Regions from separate parts of the Homo sapiens genome. Here region 1 is linked to region 2. The links are contacts of gene promoters, found by promoter capture Hi-C in human tissues and cell types (Jung and others, 2019). All regions are on one chromosome and are shown on one strand. Each heading gives the region's core, a stretch centred on a gene start or on the middle of the fragment in contact. The rest is flanking DNA. Distances are from core to core; before and after follow the strand shown.

What was found. Contacts are between HindIII fragments. The study calls those that stand out against the background at their distance.
Region 1: a fragment that was not itself captured here is called in contact with the fragment with the promoter of RAB38 in region 2 in 1 of the 25 tissues and cell types used here (lymphoblastoid cells).

Annotation. Positions count from the first base shown.
Region 1 is chr11:88,807,777-88,813,694 of GRCh38, forward strand. All of the region lies in intron 3 of GRM5 (glutamate metabotropic receptor 5), which reads right to left. Among named protein-coding and RNA genes, the nearest start is that of GRM5, 260 kb to the right of the region's middle. The HindIII fragment of the contact is 6,526 bases long and covers 1-4,957 here.
Region 2 is chr11:88,171,759-88,178,009 of GRCh38, forward strand. RAB38 (RAB38, member RAS oncogene family) reads right to left here and starts at 3,685. Exons shown (of 3, transcript NM_022337.3): 1 at 3,425-3,685. The coding sequence starts at 3,626. MIR3166 (microRNA 3166) reads left to right here and starts at 4,744; the gene lies at 4,744-4,835. The HindIII fragment of the contact is 10,731 bases long and covers 1-6,204 here.

The sequences.
Region 1 (5,918 bases), core at 445-2,944, 630 kb after region 2:
TAATGAATTGCAAAATTCAAATAACATGTTTTATACAATTTGAATAAAAATGTGCTAAGAGAAACTGAGTTATACGTATTAGTCAATTAACAAGCTGCTTCTCATTTGCCATGTAGTTTTTATAACACTTTAGAACATTTCTTTCTCAGTATTTGTTATCATTTATAGAATAATTTTAATCCCCAAAATAGGCATATTAGACATTTTATAGCATATGTTTTCATAGAATATTCATTTATAAATTTCTAGATACTGGTTAATCTATAATAGGGTGTTTACTGATTACTATATAATATCTACTATTCAATAATTGTGTATGTGATGGTATATATATTACATACTGGCAATTATTTATAGAAGAGACATTTTACATAGTATATATATGGAATGCACAGACATGTGTATTTAAGCCTTGTTACTTGCTATCTCATATTTGAATTTTCCACTAGAATATAAGTTTTGAAATGACTTTATTTTCTAATCTCTAATAGCAAGATATAAGAAAATCTGGCTGTCCTTAGATACTGTATATATGTACTTTACAGCCATAGAATTTTAGTTGCAGCATGCAGGGTATGTATTTACCATGTAAACTGTATAGTTAAAATAATTTACAGATGGTCAGATAAATAAATAGAAAGAATATTAAACAATGTGTTTGCATTTAGATTATCATTTTTAATGTTTCCACTATACAGGAACAGATAAGCAGAGAATGGCATGGATCTTTATAGTTAAATAGCATGGATTTGTGAAAAACCACTTTAGTGAAGTGAAAAAGTATATTTCCACAGACATTATTAAGAGGTGAGAATTTCTCAAAGCCACATTGTAACATAGTGACCATAACATATGACACTTCTCAGTGTCATCATGTTATATTGGAATGTAAAATATTATTGCAAGAAAGATAATAAAAATGGCATCAAAATTAGCTACCTTAACAGCTTCTCTTTTTCAATCTCTTAGTCTTCCTAGATGAACTCCTGGCTTGGCAGAAATCTCTGAATTCTGCTCGTTCCATGTTCATGAATACTAATAATGTACCTCGAAATATGATCCCTTAACATGAATTAATTCTGCTTCCCAGGATATATTTTTATTTTTCACATTTCACAAAGATTTATGAGAAATAATTGTTTGGCATTTATCGGCATCCATGTTCCACTAATTAACATCCTTGTATATCCATGGGGAAGAATAGACAGAATCTAACAATCCACTTCCTTTATCTTTTAACAACGTGTTTGTTTCTGTTTGGAGACTGTTAATTAGTTTAACCTTAGACTCTTTAAAAGCATTTTATTTCTTTTTTAATTCACAAGTTACTGAGAAAAAGCATAGAGCAACTGATTCAAATTAAGAACAAAGCATTATCTCATATATTTCTTATAAGGGAGGAATTAATTGAAAAATAATCTCATCGTGGAGAGAGGGAAATATCCAGCTGGAGGAGAGGAGGTGATAAGTCACTGTATTTTCTTATGTTTCATCAGACTTCTTTCCCCTCTAAGGGGCAAGTTAGAGGCTTATTCTAATAAGCTCTTAACTGTAGCCAGTTTATTCAAGTTTAAGCTCTCAGCTTCATCATATATTGGCTTTTCAATCTTAAGCAAGCCAATTAGGATGGTGGCAGAGGAGTGTAGAGGTTATATAGATTCATTTGGTCATTTGTTTCCTTTGGTCAGCCAGGCACTTTGCTTTATGTAGTTCATCTCATTTAATCTTTGTAAAGATTATTATTTTTACTGTTCATCAAAGTAGGCATGATTAACTTTGCTATATTCTAGAAAATGGAAACCCAGTGATATTAAACAACCAAGTTAATGACTGGTAAAGATAATAAACATACACTTGGGCAATTTGGGGAAAGAAATAAAATAATATATGTACTTTGAAAACAAGGCAGCATTAAAGACATGTAAGATATGACATCATATAGGGACATTCAATCAAGATGAACTGAGACCAGGTATAATGCAGTTAATATGTCAAAAAAAAAAAGTTGAGGAGATTCTTCAGGAATATGGTTGCCAGATTTAGCAAATAAAAATATCAAATATCTGTTAAATTTGAATTTTAGAAAACTAGTTAATTTAGCATAAATATATCCCATGCAATCTTAGGGATAGCTGATACTAAACAAATGTGTTTCTTAAACCTGATATTTGAATTTAATTGTGTGTCTTGTATTTTATCTAACTGCCCTACTCAGGGACTTTCCTTTATAAGAAATAAAGGCTAGAGAGGCCTCTACTACTGAGGACAGGAACTGGGAAAGCTGTTACAGTAGGACCTCTGTGCTTTGATTATGCATCTAATATGATGACTTTCATTATTGGAGATTAGGCCCCAAGTATGAGAAAGACTGAAGAGTAAAATGGTTTGGAAAAACTGCAGCCTAGATTAGCAAGTTTGAGATAATGGAAGGGTGCTATGTATGGCAGTAACACTGAGATCCATAAAAGCCAGTAATAATTAGGTTTGGATAGCTGAGTAAAGCTTTGGTTAAAAAAACTTGGGCTGGCTCTTGAAAAATGAGTATATGAAGAGGAATAAAAGAGGATTAGTCTCTGGTGGCATTAGTAAAAATAAAACATGGGAATGAGTCCTTTTCAAATATCAATTCTGTACAAACATCTGTAGCTACACAAATATTACATGAAGAAACAGCTGAGAAAAAAGTAAATGCTCATATATAAGATTAGCAAGGTATGGTGGGGCCCAGCAAGACAGGGATTAAATTAGGAAGAGAGTAGATACTGAAGATCGGTCAGGGAGCTGTTAGAGTAAGCATCCTGAAGAAGGCATAAACAGGCAGAATGAATCCTGTTCGTTGCTCCTACAAACATGCAGCATAGGAGGAAGGGAAACAGCTTTTACTGAGAAGCTGTATTTGTGTCAGTCATTGATATTTTATCATATTAAATATTCAAAGTTAAATTAATTGTGAAGTATAAATATGTATGTCAGTATGAAGATGACCAATGCCAACCAGGATCATTGAATAAAAAAGAGTTTTGTTTAATCTATTTATTGCCATCTATGTCCAAAGAGGAAGTCAATATTGGCAGATAGTCTCCTTGTGCTCAAAGAGTTCAAAAAACTATGTCACAACTTAAGAGAAACAGAACTGGAATTAGGAAATCTGGTTGTGCTATTAACAAGTTAACAGAGTTTATTCATCTGTAAAACGGGAACAAGACTATCTCAGAGAAAAAGTATAAAGATTCTATTAGATAAGTTTTGGGCAAAGATTATCTCAGCTCTAATATTCTAAGTTCCCTCCTATGGAAAAGCCATTATTCTAGAAACACCTTTTTTTGTTTTTTTTCCATTCTCAAGATGCTATGCCTTAACAACACTGGGGGGTGGATCACTTAGAAGGACAACAATTCAAGTATTCAAATACGTGTTTCCAGCAGGACAGAGACTAAGCTGGTGCCTTTGAGGACAAATAACAGAAGATTTTTTTTGGAAAACATTCTGAACACATTTTGATAGACTTTGTGACAGTTTGGAGAAAAAAGATACAGAGCATTAAAAGCGGGATATGAAATCTAAAATATAAGGAAACAAGGACTTTGGGAATCTGAACCAGGAAACAGAAACTCAGTTTGAATATTTTATAACAAAGACCTGTTGTAGAATCCACAGTATTCTCTACTATTCTGTGCTGTAGAAAAATTATGACCCTGGGTTCTTTTAGATACAGAAAGAAGAAAATATTCCAGCAGGTCTCTCTTAGAAGTAGAGAAGAACATTTGCTTTTTGGTCTGATATCAGCCTTAGAGCATTTTTGCAGATTGGGCTCACTCTGTAGAATGAAAGTAGAATGAATTCTCAAAATTAGGGAGAACGGTCTCTATAATTTAATACCTATAGGACAAACTATATGTATGACAAGATGAGAAGTAATGATACAAAATTATGTACTGTTTTATGTATTAAGTGAGATATCTTACATAAAGCATACCACAGGCACACAATATATGGTGATTTCCTTCCCTCTCCAATCACACCCTGCCCCTTCCAGATCCAATGCATATCCTCTTCCAGGGGTACCATGCGCCAACTTACCCAGAGCTCAGTGGTACAAATTTACAGCACCTATCAGTGATAACAGCCAGAAATGACATACTCTTCCCAAAAAAGGCTTTTCTCTGCAGCGTAGAGGGTAGAATTAGGTCAGTTATGTAAGACTCATATTAAACGAGTACACTTTGGGCCACTTTGGTGATATTGTTAATGTTTCTGCCTTCAAGTGGTTACAAAAGGAAGGTGAAGTTAATTTCCCTTGCTTCGGAAGTTCTGTTTTATAAGTCTGAAGGGTACAATATTGAAATGATAACCTACATTCAATATTAACCATTTGCTGCCAAAGTAAATACTATATTTCGATAATTTCATAAATATCCAAGAGAAATTGTCCCAATATTCACATATATTGAAGTTAGCTCATCAGGAAAAGTCATTTTAGTGATGAGGCTCTGAAGAGGCCCCCAAAAATTGAGATAATTATAGTGATACGTCAACTGCAAAAACCATATTTGTGAGAGATGCTCAGTTATGTCTGAATAAGAATCTTAGAATTATAGAATGTTCCAACTGGAGAGGATCTTGTCTAACACATTTATCATAGAGATAAAGCAATTAAGACCTGGAAATGTTAAATTATTTGCTTAGGATTGCCCAAGAAATGGAAGAGATGGTTCTGAACCAGGTCTTTTGACTTAATTTTTTTCTAATGCATTTGTTATAGAGATAAAGCAACTAAGACAAGGAGATGTTATTTGTTCTGCATTGTTCAGTAAGTGGAAGAGACAAAAATATTTTTCAATCAACAAACTCTTACTGTTGATGTTAATATGGCTGACACTGCCTCTCTGCCTTAAAGTGTATTACAATAAAATGCAAAGACACCTATGAAAACCTTTCATCATAAAAGACGAAATTTCATTTTTTTCCCAAAACCCAGGTTTTAACACAGAAAACTTTGAGCTCCAAGAATTAAAATACTCTTTTTGAAGCTAGAATACTAAACATCCAATTTTGCATGTAGGGAAATAGAAACAAATATTTTAAATGTTTTGAACATAGTTTTCACAGCTAGAAAATTACTTAAAAAAAGGCCTCTCAATCTCTGTCTATGCTTGTTTCATTCATATTTTATAGCTTTTCTCACCTGAATTCTGGTAAATCCTTATCTTTCTGTCTTACCTCCCTATCACTCATCCTGAATTTCATATATTTATATTTGATTTTTGTTTTAACTCCGGGGAAGATTAGTATTTATCTCATTTTAATATTTTCTCTTTGTGCATTTCAGTACATTGCTTTAGTATTCTAATGTCCTCCAAAATTTAGATTTCTTGCAAAAGAAACTGCTGATTCTTACCAGGTTTGTATCACAAATAAATCTTTTAAATACCGTCTTTTAGTCTTCCAACAAGTTGCTGACATTTTATTCATGTTTGTATCCCTGTGACTTGCAGGTAGGGGGTACTAAATGCTGTCTGCTAAGTGCATGAATGATTAATGGAACAGCACAAAGGGGAGCACCCCAGGCTGGGGATTTTTTAGTTCTCTCACTAGGTTTGCCAAGATGTTTCAATCAGTATTCCTTGAGTACCACTTCAGAGTCAGCCTGAGTGTGACTTATTCTACCACCATCTACTTTACTTCAATTTTCTATAACTCATTTAAAAAAAGAATGCCAATGAAAATTCTGTCATATGCTTGAAACATTTTGGGGCTCATGTTAGTGGAATGACTTCTAGTTTTCCCAGCTTCTTCCAGTGCAAGTTTTCTAAACATATCTCAAAAAGCCCCAGTTTTATATCACAACAGTTTCATGAGAAAGTGAAACAGTTTCATGAGAAAGTGAAACAGACTATGAACCTTTTGTACTGATCCAT
Region 2 (6,251 bases), core at 2,435-4,934:
GTTCTTTTTGAAAGGGTGAATGAGCAATTATAGTCTCTGGATTTGGAGAGTAATAAAAAAGTGGAGTCTCAAGTGTGAACTTTTTGTTTTCATTTTCCCTAAATGACCTATTTTTTTAAAAACTCTATAAATTCACATCCTAATCAAGATAAAATTTTCAGAAATAGATTTTAATTCATTCCTTTTCACTGAATGCACAGTGGTACTTAATAATACCAAAAATCCAGTTAGAAAGGAGAAGGTAAGTTTAACCCACCTACTAATGAAACAACACCTTTAAAAAGAAGGCATAATCCCTGTGGGCCAGCTGTGTGCCAGGCACTCACAGGCCAGCAAGTGCAAACAGCAAGGCTTGACTCTGAGTGAAACGGAACCGGGTCAAATCTGGCTCTTCCTCTACTAGCTGGGTGGCCTCAGGCAAAGTTACTTCATTTCTTTGACTCTATCAGGAGCCTCTGAACACACAGCTGACCTTCTAGCATGGAATCACTGGAATCCAGGCCAACTGCTGTCCCCTATGGGGTTTGGTGGGATTTATCATCTTGTTTCAAGGCCTACTTCACAAGACCCCAGAGATACTTTTTGGAGTCTTTCAAGATCAGACTGGCCAATCTACATGGCTATAAGAGACACATCATGGGAATTTAGTAGATTAAAAAGGGCCCTATTTGGCATTGAACCAAATGAGTATCAAGAGTCTAGCTGAGCCAAGATTCCCTTAATAACAAATGTATATGATATCCTATCAGAACAGTGCAGGTCTTCTCTATCTCATTGAACACCCACAACCTTCTCAAAGCTAGGCCCACTAACCTCCACTACCTGCTCTCTCCGGGGACACACCAGAGTTGAACACTAAGGACGGAGAGATGCATTCTTATCTGTGGACAGACAGGCTGTGATTTGAAAGTACTATAAGGTACACCTGGCTGACTGGAGTCTGGGTGGGCAGTTGAGGTTGTATTTCACATGAACTCATAACCCACATGGCTCCCTATGCAGCTTAAACCATGAAACATGGAGCACGTGCATGTTCCAACCATTTCCTACAGTGGCCTAGCTTTCACCCAATTCACTGTGCCTGCTGTCCAATCTATAATTCAGCTAACAGGGCCTTTGGGCTTAAGGCTGCTAAAGACAGGTTACCACTGAGCATTAGAGCTCTGGGAAAAACAAGCTCCTCTACTGAGATGTTGAATGTAACACCACCGCAGTATCTGTAGAATGAACTTCCCAAGACTTCAGATTTCTTATTTATACAGACTTCTGTGACTACAGCCTCCACTGCAACTTCAGTCTACAAAACATGGCTAACGAAGTGCTTTCGAGCTTGGGAGTTAAATTGCTCCTGAGAGTATGTCAGGAGCAAAGCTGAAAATGGTGATAACTTGGGGACAAAATATATATGTAATATTGGGATCACAATTTATTAGGAATTAATAAGCACTTGTATATCATATCCTTCTTGCCTAGCATTTATATAGGCTTAAAAAAATGGTAGCTAGTGTGATAATAATCCTTGCAGATCTCCTAGAGAACAGGCATGATCACCTTCAGCTAGCACTGTTGGTTGCTCACCTGTCATCTATTGGGAGAAAGCATTCTCCCTGTTTACAAGTAAGGAAACCAAAACAAGGAGGTTAGAGAACTTACCTAAGATTGCCTACTACATGCAGAGTAAAGTAAGGATCCAGATGGAGGCAGTTCAACTCTGGAATTTGGGCTATTAATCACTGTACCCTTCCATCTCTTCTGTTTATGTGAGGAGACTGAAATCTACAGACATAGAACTTCTCTGCTGTCATGCTGTTACCTGGATTGTACACAGAAGTCCAAATTACAGCTACATCCCCGTTTAAACAGTAAGCCGTTTCTAAATCTGAATCCTGAGGACTTTCGAGCAGCCAGAAGGGTTTTCAGACATTATGACATGCAGCAAGAAAGTACACAGAGAGAATTTTTTTAGATGAAAAGCCCCATCCAACAGTGGCTGATAACATTTTCTGTTCTCTGATAACCCCCTTGCTACTAGAGCAGCTGAAGATGACTCCAAATGCATGAATCTGTTCATCTGTTCACATGCTAAAAGAAAAAGGCCTGGCAGTTCATGATTAAAGAGGCACGAAAGTCCCCAGATCACAAATGCCCTTTCAAAAATTTTCCACATTTGTTCTAGTTTCAAGCCATGATAAAGAGTTTCCAATCAAATGCATCAGCTAAAATGAATCCATTTTCTGAAACAGAAGTGGCTAGTTTGGGTCCAGCACTTATAACGAAAGGTTCCTGGTGTCACAGACCATGAAATAAGACTGTTTGAAGTTGTTCCCATGGAGAATCCCAGAGGACTTTAAAACTTCTGAGCAGGAAGATCCTTGACCCTTGCCCAACTCCTTTCCACTTAACAGCGATGCAACTGAGCTGAAGAGACTTGTCCAAAGCCACTGAGCAGGTTAGTTAGTGGCAGGGCTAAAATCTGTAATGAGGGGTTGGTCATGCGCAGGTTGCAAACAGCCTTGTCCAAGGATTCACACTTGGAGTAGATACATTGCACCCTCACTTTTGACTAGGCCTAACTTCTGGTACAAACCTGTGGAGTCAAAATCTGATTTTAAATATTGTAAAAAACAAAAACAAACAACCTCTCATTTTTCAGATCTCTCAATGAAAACTTTAGGGCCAAATCAAGAAATCATAAGGCTATCATAGGCCCTTACATAAAAATGGCCTTAAAATATACACACAACCTCCTTTTCATAGAAGACAGAGAGCCAGAGAGATAGAAATACAGAAAGAGAGGGAGAAAGAATACTTTGCCCCTGACATATACACACAAAAGTACTTGGCTTACTGTAAGCAAAAAGCAAAAAAAAAAAAAAAAAAAAACAAAACAAAAACCCTCAAACTCCTTTGTCTTAAGGGCAGAGAGAAAGGTGACAAAATTTGAAATAAAGTGAGCCACTGAAGACAGGAATGGGCAAACTCCAGCTAGCCTGGAACTATCCCGGTTTCCTCTGTGAACCAGCCTAGGGGCTTCCCCTCGGTCCGCCCCTGCACGGAAGGACGTGCGTGACACTGGGCTGCGTCATTGGCAGAACTGCCCGCGCCCAGAAAACGAGCTGGAGTGGAGAACAGAATGCAATTGCAGACAATCTTCCTCTGGTTCCCTGGGGAGGCCTGCTCTGGGCAGAGAGATCCCAGGGGACTGTGCGGGAAGGAGCTAAAGCAATAGCCCAAAAGCGCCAGGGAATGCACTTGAAGTTTCAGACGTTTTTCTTTTCTTTGAAACTAAGTTTCCAGCCCACCAGGAAAAACTGCCTCGCGACCTAGTGATTTTAATCTCACGCTTGGCCGCAAGCCGCTGCCTCGAGACTGGAAACCGGCCGCGAGGCGCTCTATCCCCCTGACCCCCTCCCCCCGCGCTCACCTGCGATATCCCAGAGCTGCAGGCGCACCACAGTCTCCGGGTCCCAGTGGAGCACCTTGAGCGCGAAGTCCACGCCGATTGTGGCCCGGTAGTGCGAAGAGAAGTTCTGGTGCACGTAGCGCTTGATGATACTGGTCTTCCCCACGCCCAGGTCGCCAATCACCAGCAACTTGTACAGGTGCTCCTTGTGCGGGGCCTGCATCCTGGCGGCCGGCCAGACGTGCCGTGCCTGACCAGGGAAGCGCAGCCTGGGCTCTGCGCACGAGAGAGACTTGGGGAGCGCAAGTGTAGGTGCAGAGAGAGGCGTGGGCGGCGGGGCGGGGGCTGGGGGGCGGAACTCCTCCCCTAGGGGTTAATCCTCCTTCCTACTCCGCGGTCTTGGAGAGGGGAGGAGACAGGAGCGAGTCCCGGGACTGGCAGCTGAAAGGGGTTCGCGTGTGGTTGCCTGTTGCAGCGCTTATTTATCCGGCGCTTTAGAGTTTCCGAAGAGCTGTTTTCACCTGTGACCCTGGCCACAAACTTGTGAGGTGTGGATCTTATTTTCCACGTTTTGCTTGCGAGAAAACTGATTGTGAAAAAGTACTCTGCGGGAGATGGCCGGTGAAAGGCCCCGTTGACCACAGGTCTGAAGTCACAGGCTCTTAACTACCCCACACTGTAGAGAGAAATTACAGTATTAGGAAGCCCAAGACTGGCTGGGCTTGGTTCCTGCGTGCCCTGGTTTTTAAGTTGAGGGACCATAAGTAAGTCATTTGAGCTCTCACAGCCTGTTATTTCTCAATGAATGGCAATGCTGACCTCTGAGCAGCTTGGAGGTGGGAACACTGAGCACTTTCACACCCATTCAACTGGTAATCAGTTAACAAGGAGGACAACTGGGCCGAAAATGCCAAGGGCACTGGTGACTTTTAGCCTCTTCCCATATCCTAAAAACTCAGAGCTGCACAGAAAGACAGTTTTAACAATCGGTCAGATTATTACAAATAATAATAATGGCAAACATTTATTGAGCACTCGCTATATGCCAGAGGGTTTATAAATTATGTCATTTAGTCATCCCAGCTGTCTTAATAATAGATACCATTTTTCTTCCTATTTTACAAATGAGGAAGCTAAGGACCAGACATTTTAAGTAATGGACCCAGAGTCAAATAGTAAGGAAAAAAACCAAATTCAAACATAGGTCTTTAGGTTCCCAACTTCTTTTTGTTGTTTTTGTTGTTTGTTTTCATTCATTTGACCAATATACATTTTATTACCAATTAATATATGACAAATTGTACTTATTTTGTCTTGTCTGTCTCCACCTACAAGAAGGTAAATTTTTTTGAGGCCAGTAGGCATTGTCTGCGTTAGGATTTCTGTATCATCCTCCTAACGCAGACAATGCCTACTGGCCTAAGAAAAATTTACCTTCTTGTGGGTGGAGACAGGACAAGACAAAATAAATACAATTTGTCATATATTAATTGGTAATAAAATAAGGCAGAAAGGGGATGTGAAGAGATTATATGGGGTTTGCCTTTTAGATAGGGTGGCCAGGGAAGGTTTCAGTAAGATGGAGACAATTTAGTAAAGACATAAAGAAAATGAGAAATTGGGCATTCAGGGCTAGGGGGTGAGCAGTTTATACCAAAATGAGCTATTTTGTACCTGAATGTGCTGTGAAGGAGCTCTGCTCACATTCTATCATTTCATCTTCTCAATTGCTTTATGAAGTGGGTTATTTTCTTCAATTTATAAATAAGGAAACCAAGATTAACAGCAGCTTTCTCAAGGGCACACATAACTAGTATGTGTTAGAACTAGGACTTAAACACAGGCCTGTGTGAAAGGGAGAAAGGAGGTTTGGCAAGGCCATTGTCTTTCTGCCTTCCTCTTCTGGCCTGACACTCCCTAAACTTTAGCCTCCACATGCCCCAAACAAGCAGAGGGATGCTGAAGATGTGTACCCGGGACAAGTCACATAACCTCTGAGCCTTGGTTTCCACATCAACGAAAGGAGAATGATAATACCTATGGCAGGGCATGGTTGCTCATGATTGTAATCCAAGCACTTTGGGAGGCTGAGGTGGGTGAATCACTTGAGGTCAGGAGTTCAAGACCAGCCTGGCCAACATGGTGAAACCCGTCTCTACTAAAAATACAAAAATTAGCCGGGCGTGGTGGCAGGTGACTATAATCCCAGCTACTTGAGAGGCTGAGACAGGAGACTATCTTGAACCAGGGATGCAGAGGTTGCAGTGAGCCAAGATCACACCATTGCTCTCCAGCCTGGGTAACCTGAGCAAGACTCTATCTCTAAATAAATAAATAAATAAATAAATAAATAAATACAAATGAAATTGTTGATAAAATGCTGGGTCCATAGTAGGTGGTAAATAAATTGTAGCTATTACTATGAAATGAGGGACAAGCTTAAAATACTGTCCACAGGCACTGTCCTGTGCAGTTTCATCTTTCCTCAGAGAGTAACTCAGAAGTTTTGCTCAGAATGGACACTAAGTGACAGTGTGTAGAATTGCAGTCGTTTGTGTTTTATTGAAGTGCTTAGCTGGGTAGGCCTCATTTACTGGTTTCCACCCATGCGAGGACACACCAAGAAGATCACATCTAACAAGTGAGACAAATACTCTACCTGCTTAAAGAATTAGCCAACAATGTCACCTCACTTCCCAGGGAGGGGAATTCAGTAGCCCAAGATGCTTAAGCCATTCTAAATGCCTGCAAAATTAGGGAGGATGACAAAATGAGACCTTTGCCAGCTCTAAAATCCTGGGTCTGTAAATCTGAGAGACAGGCTTTGTCTGGCCAACAAGCTCCTGGG